2 separate regions of the Homo sapiens genome follow, and region 1 is linked to region 2. Evidence: promoter capture Hi-C in 16 types of primary human blood cells and fetal thymus (Javierre and others, 2016). All regions are on one chromosome and are shown on one strand. The core of a region is centred on a gene start or on the middle of the fragment in contact, and the rest is flanking DNA. Distances in the headings are between cores, read along the strand shown. Region 1 has its middle 13 kb from the start of GJD4-AS1. Region 2 holds the start of CUL2 (cullin 2).

Region 1 (2,844 bases), core at 157-2,656, 530 kb after region 2:
AGACTAATATAGTCATATTCACCCAAGTAGAACACCCTGGAGGAGGAGATGGATTGCTGATAGTTTCTGTTGTTTTTTTTTATTTTTACAATTTATTTTATTACCATTATTTTTTAGAGACAGGGTCTTGCTCTGTCACCCAGGCTGAGTGCAGTGGTATGACCATAACTCACTGCAGCCTTGAACTCCTGGGGACACGTGATCCTCCCACTTCAGCCTCCTGAGTAGCTGAGACTATGGGCATGCACCACCATATCCAGCTAGTTTTTAATTTTTTTTTTTTTTTTAGAGATGGGGTCTTGCTATGTTGCCCAGGCTGGTCTTGAATTCCTGGGCTCGAGTAATCCTCCTGCCTTGGCCTCCTAAAGTGCTGGAATTACAGGCATGAGCCACCACGCCCGGTCAGTTTCTGGTGTAGAAATGTCAAGGTGAAGTTGCCTTTGGGGTATTTTGGAGGAGATGCTGAGTAGGAAGTTGGACTGCTGGATCCGAGCACAGAGAGGAGTTTGGCTGGAGACAGATTGTGGAATCATCACACAGAGCCGCTTTCGAGTCCTTGGGTGTGGCTGCCCAGTCTCCCTCTGCTTCAGACAACCCCACACCTCCTTGGTGACCCTAAGGGACAGGGAAAGCAGGTGGCATCAGGAAGGATAGCAGGATCCCTACGATCACTCCCAGGGGGGTGAATTCTTTTGTTTTCCAGCTGAAGAAGCAGATCTTACAGCAAAACTGCCCTGATTTATTTACCCTGTGTGGTGACCAGGTCAGTGGGACAAACAGCAGATCTATGGTGTTCCTGAGGTTCTCAAATATCTGTGCTGACATGTTTCTTTTCTGTTTCTTTTCTTTTCTTCTCCCTTTTTTTTTTTTTTTTGAGACACAGTCTTGCTCTGTTGCCCAGGCAGAAGTGCAGTGGTGCAATCTTGGCTCACTACAACATCTGCCTCCCAAGTTCAAGTGATTCTCCTGCCTCAGCCTCCTGAGTCGCTGGGATTACAGGCGTCCACCACCATGCCCAGCTAATTTTTGTATTTTTAGCAGAGATGTGGTTTCTCCATGTTGGCCAGGCTAGTCTGGAACTTCGGACCTCAAGTGATCCTCCTGCCTCAGCCTCCCAAAGTGCTGGGATGACAGGTGTGAGCCACCACGCCCAGCCTGTGCAGACATATTTCTGTTAAACTCCAAGCTCTTGTCCTGTGTTTCCTCTCCTGATACCACCCAGGTTTCCACCTACAACCTCTGAGGGATGGACCGTCTGGATCTGCCCCAGGTGAGCCTACAGAGCTGCCTCCTTCTCTGACCAAATTAGCCTTTCCCTGGACCCCCGTGTCCCTCCCTTGTATTTCTATGTCATTCCGAGAGGGGAACATTCTGGTGTCCTACACTATCTTATTTGATGGAAAGAGCAGAGTTACTTATTTACTTAACGCTATTTTTGTAAGCATGAATGAGTTGGTGTTAAATGGATTTTTCTTTTTTTTAAATACCATCCTTACGCTGTTGTTTCCATTTCTGTTGTTGTTGCCAGGTTAAATTTACTTTTTTGGGAAATATTGTTTAAATTTCAGCATGCTAATATATACACATACATATATACATATATTTATTTTATTTTATTTTATTTTATTTTATTTTATTTTATTTTGAGACAGAGTCTCGCTCTGTCTCCCAGGCTGGAGTGCAGTTGCGCAATCTTGGCTCACTGCAACCTCTGCCTCCCGGGTTCAAGTGATTCTCCTGCCTTGGCCTCCCAAAGTGCTGGGATTACAGGTGTGAGCCACTGTGCCCGGCTGCCAATTTTACTCTCTAGACGCAAATACACAAGGCGTTCCAGGGACAGCTCGTCAAGTGCTGGGAAGAACGTGTGGCTGGAGGGGATGCCCAGTGGCTGGCCTTTTTGGAGACAATGGTCCAAGCACCAAATTGGTGCCATTCTACATTTGTGGTCTCCAGGAGGGCCTCCAGCACTGTATCCTCACCTCCATGTTCCTAATTCATTCACTGTCCGAGCTTCCCATCATCCATGTAAGCCTCTTCTGCTCTTCTCACACCTTGGCAGGTGGCCTCGCTTCCTATGGACAGAGAAGACATTCGATGGGGACTTCTCTCTGCCCACCACATTCCACCCCGTTTCCTGACTTCCTGTTTACCTTACTGTATTTCTCGCTGCATTCTAACATGAAATGAGGACCTACCATGTACCAGGCAGCGTTTTGTGCCTTGTCTGGACTTTCTAATTTAACCCATCATCACACCCCTTTGAGACAGGCACAGTTTTATAGTGGGACTCCATGTACAGTTGAGGAAACTGTGAATAGGGGATGTTCTGCAAAGTCCAAGTTCCCACTGTAGCCTCCATATATGGTGTAGTGTCAGGACCGGATAGGTGTTCAATCAACAATTTTTTGAGTTTATTTTATTTTACTTTATGTATTTATTTTTAGAGACAGGGTCTCACTCTGTTACTCAGGGTGGAGTGCAGTGGCATGATCTTGGCTCACTGCAGCCACAACCTCCCAGACTCAGGTGATCCTCCCACCTCAGCCTTCTGAGTAACTAGGACTAAAGGTGCATGCCACCATGCCCAGCTAATTTTTAAAAACTTTTAAATTTTTGTACAGACAGAGTCTTGCTATGTTGCCCAGGCTGGTCTTGAACGCCTGGCCTCAAGTGAGCCTCCTGTCTGGCCTCTCAAAGTGTTGACATTAAAGGAGTGAGCCGTCATGCCCAGCCTGAATTAGTTTTGATATAAGAGAAATGCAAAGCCCATGAGGCAGAGGCAGCACACAGGGAAGGTTTGTAGGCAGAAGGTAAAGAGGGAAGCAATAACAGAATAGTTGCGAG
Region 2 (2,919 bases), core at 167-2,666:
CAGCACTTTGGGAGGCCTAAGCAGGCGAATCACCTGAGGTCAGGAGTTCAAGACCAGCCTGGCCAACATGGTGAAACCCCATCTCCACTAAAAATACAAAATTAGCCGGGCATGGTGGCGCATGCCAGTAATCCCAGCTACATGGAAGGCTAAGGCAGAAGAATTGCTTGAACCCGGGAGGCGGAGGTTGCAGTGAGCCGAGATCGCACCACTGCACTCCAGCCTGGGTGACAAGAGCAAAACTCCATCTCAAAACAAAAAAACTGTGTACTTCTCTTATCTCACGCGACTCTTTTGGAAGGATCTTCCAGATACTGTATAAGGGCAAAAGAAGCAAAGTATAGCTCATTTGTTCATGTGTCTGTCTTGAAAAGGAATGTAAGATTCTAAAGGGTAGGCAACAGTGTTTTGAATGTTTTTAAGCGATTATTATGTAGTCAGTTGTCAATCAGATCAAAGTGATTATTTCCGATACTTTACTACGAAGGTAGGCTTGGCCAGGTCTAGTTCAAAGACGTTTATGTTGAACAGTCACAATCTATAGCGAACGTTAATATTTTGCATCTTATCTTCAAAATTTAAACGCCCAGGGTACTGGCCTTCAACTGTTAATATTAATCCATGGGGCAAAGATGTGGACTTAACATTAATAACAGTCTGCAATTCACAGATGTTTTATTTGCATGCACGTAATGGTAGGGAATGGTCCAGACTCTCTAGAGGGTAAGCAAGTGCTAGAAAGCGTGTGAGGATCTTATTTCACCAGACCCTAAGGGTTGAGACAAGAAGTCTAGCATGCACGTAGGATACTCCTCCCCAAAGCTATCAATCTTTGCAGTCTGCGGAAACAAAAGTGAAAACACTCGGGGTAAGGATGCATGAGATGCCCCCCCCCACACACACACACAAACACACAGAGTTGTGTATTCGTGTGAGCACGTAAATATGTAGAAGAATACACGCACTCTCACCTTCCCTCCTTCGAAGGAAAATGGGGCCGCGGGAGAGGCGGCCAAGATCGGGTTGGGGAGGCCCGGGATCCAGTCCAGGGGGTGGCAGGGCTTACGGGTCAGCGCTCTGGGGAGCCGAGGTCACTTACAGGATACCATCTTCCCGGGCCTCCCCCTTTCATCCCTCTCCCCACACCTCGTCGCCCCCAACTCCTCTCCTCCGCCCCAGCCCCGCCACCCATTAACCGGGAAGGGAAGTTTCCCGGCGCCTGCAGCCCGGCTCCCCGACCCTCAGCGGGGTTACCTTCTGCAGAAGCAGGGCAAGGGGCAGGGGACAAGGGGAGGGGGAGGCAGCCCGAAGGAGTGAAAGACGAAGCCCCGGCGAGGAAGGTGGGCGGAGGCGGCGGCGGCGGCGGCTGTCAGCTCGCGTTCCCCTGCTCACAGCGCTGCCATTACTGTGCGCCGAGGCCGCCTCCCCGGCCGGCCGCCGCCACCGGCCCCGGAGACGCGGGGGGTGGGGAGCGAAGCCCGGGGAGCCCGCGCGCCGACACTCACCTGTCTCCGCGAGGAAAGACAGCAAAGTCCAAGGCCGCCGCCGCTCCCCGGCGGGACAGGGGCGGTAGGGAGGGGGGGAAAGGGGAGAAGGACGGGCCGATCACGGGATCCGTAAAACAATCGTCCTCCTCTGCCTCCGGCTTTGCCCAACACACACCCTCCGGTCTCCTTCTTCCGCTGCTGCCAAATCCCCCCCGCCACCCGGAAAGCAATGGTACAGGCCGCGTTACGGCAAGCGCAGGGAGCCAAGCTTCGTGTGATTGCGAAAGGCCACGGAAATTAATATTCCAAGTGATTCCTTGCTGGGCTTGCTGTCAATGAGGCAATTGCGGTTCGCTGAGCTGATGGACACAGTACCCACCCACTACCCGTTAGTTCAGGGACTGCTAATAACAATATGTTGGAATGGTGCTTTCAACAGAAGTATGTTTTCCTTGTTTCAGACCTATGTGAATATCCTAAGACACCACAATCCTCTTGCCACACACTTCCATGGGCTTTGCAAATGATCAAAAATAAATTAGCAAAACTACTTTTCCTCTCTGACAAACTCTTTTTCTTGTTAGTTTTTATCTACAGAGAATTTCTTGGACATACATGTATTTTCGATAAAGAAACTTCACATCTTTTTCACTAATACCCCACCTTCACCAAGCCCCAAGCCTATCAGTTTGAAGGGTTTTCCTCCCTTGGAGTTTTAAACGGTAAAGCTGATAAAAATATAGAATTACTCATCACCTCCTCATATATGCAGGGCCACAGAGGAACAAAAGCCCGGCCTTAGTGCTTTTTGCCTTTCATATCCTCAAGAGCTCACCATCAGGGTCTTGTTCATTTATACGATTCAGCAAGCTTTTCCCTCCCATCCCTTCCTTCCAAACTGCACGAACCCTTCAAGGCCCATTTAAAACCCTGCCTCCAGACCTGATCAGTCCCTAGAGCCTTCCTCCTCTTCTAATCTGCTTCTCTTGGTACTTGAAGTCTCTACTCTTTATTTCAGTAAAGGGTTTTTATATACGAAATTCAATCCAACAGTATGTTTCCATTATGTGACCTTTTTTTCCTCCCATGTTTTCCCCCTTTTAATCTAGTGATTCTCAAAGTGTGGTCCCCAGACCTCTGGAAATCCCTGAGACCTTTACAGAGGTCATAAGGTTAACAACTAGTTTGTTAACAATGCAATATGTCTGGTCCTTTTTTTTTTTGGATACAGAGTCTTGCTCTGTCACCCAGGCTGGAATGCAGTGGCGGCACAATCTCAGCTCACTGCAACCTGCACCTCCCGGGTTCAAGTGATTCTCCTGTCTCAGCTTCCCGAGTAGCTGGTATTACAGAAGCCCGCCACCACACCCGGCTAATTTTTTGTATTTTGTAGAGACAGGGTTTCACCATGTCACCACATTGCCCAGGCTGG

Evidence for each region. The method cuts DNA at HindIII sites, captures the fragments that hold promoters and counts their contacts. A CHiCAGO score of 5 or more calls a contact.
Region 1: a fragment that was not itself captured here is called in contact with the fragment with the promoter of CUL2 in region 2 in 1 of 17 cell types (activated CD4 T cells); the score reaches 6.6 in activated CD4 T cells.

Annotation. Positions count from the first base shown.
Region 1 is chr10:35,619,733-35,622,576 of GRCh38, forward strand. No RefSeq gene overlaps it. Among named protein-coding and RNA genes, the nearest start is that of GJD4-AS1, 13 kb to the left of the region's middle. The HindIII fragment of the contact is 4,542 bases long and covers 1-2,844 here.
Region 2 is chr10:35,088,925-35,091,843 of GRCh38, forward strand. CUL2 (cullin 2) reads right to left here and starts at 1,417. Exons shown (of 21, transcript NM_003591.4): 1 at 1,255-1,417. RefSeq lists silencers at 1,188-1,317, 1,338-1,537, 1,591-1,779 and an enhancer at 1,698-1,837. The HindIII fragment of the contact is 6,346 bases long and covers 1-1,753 here.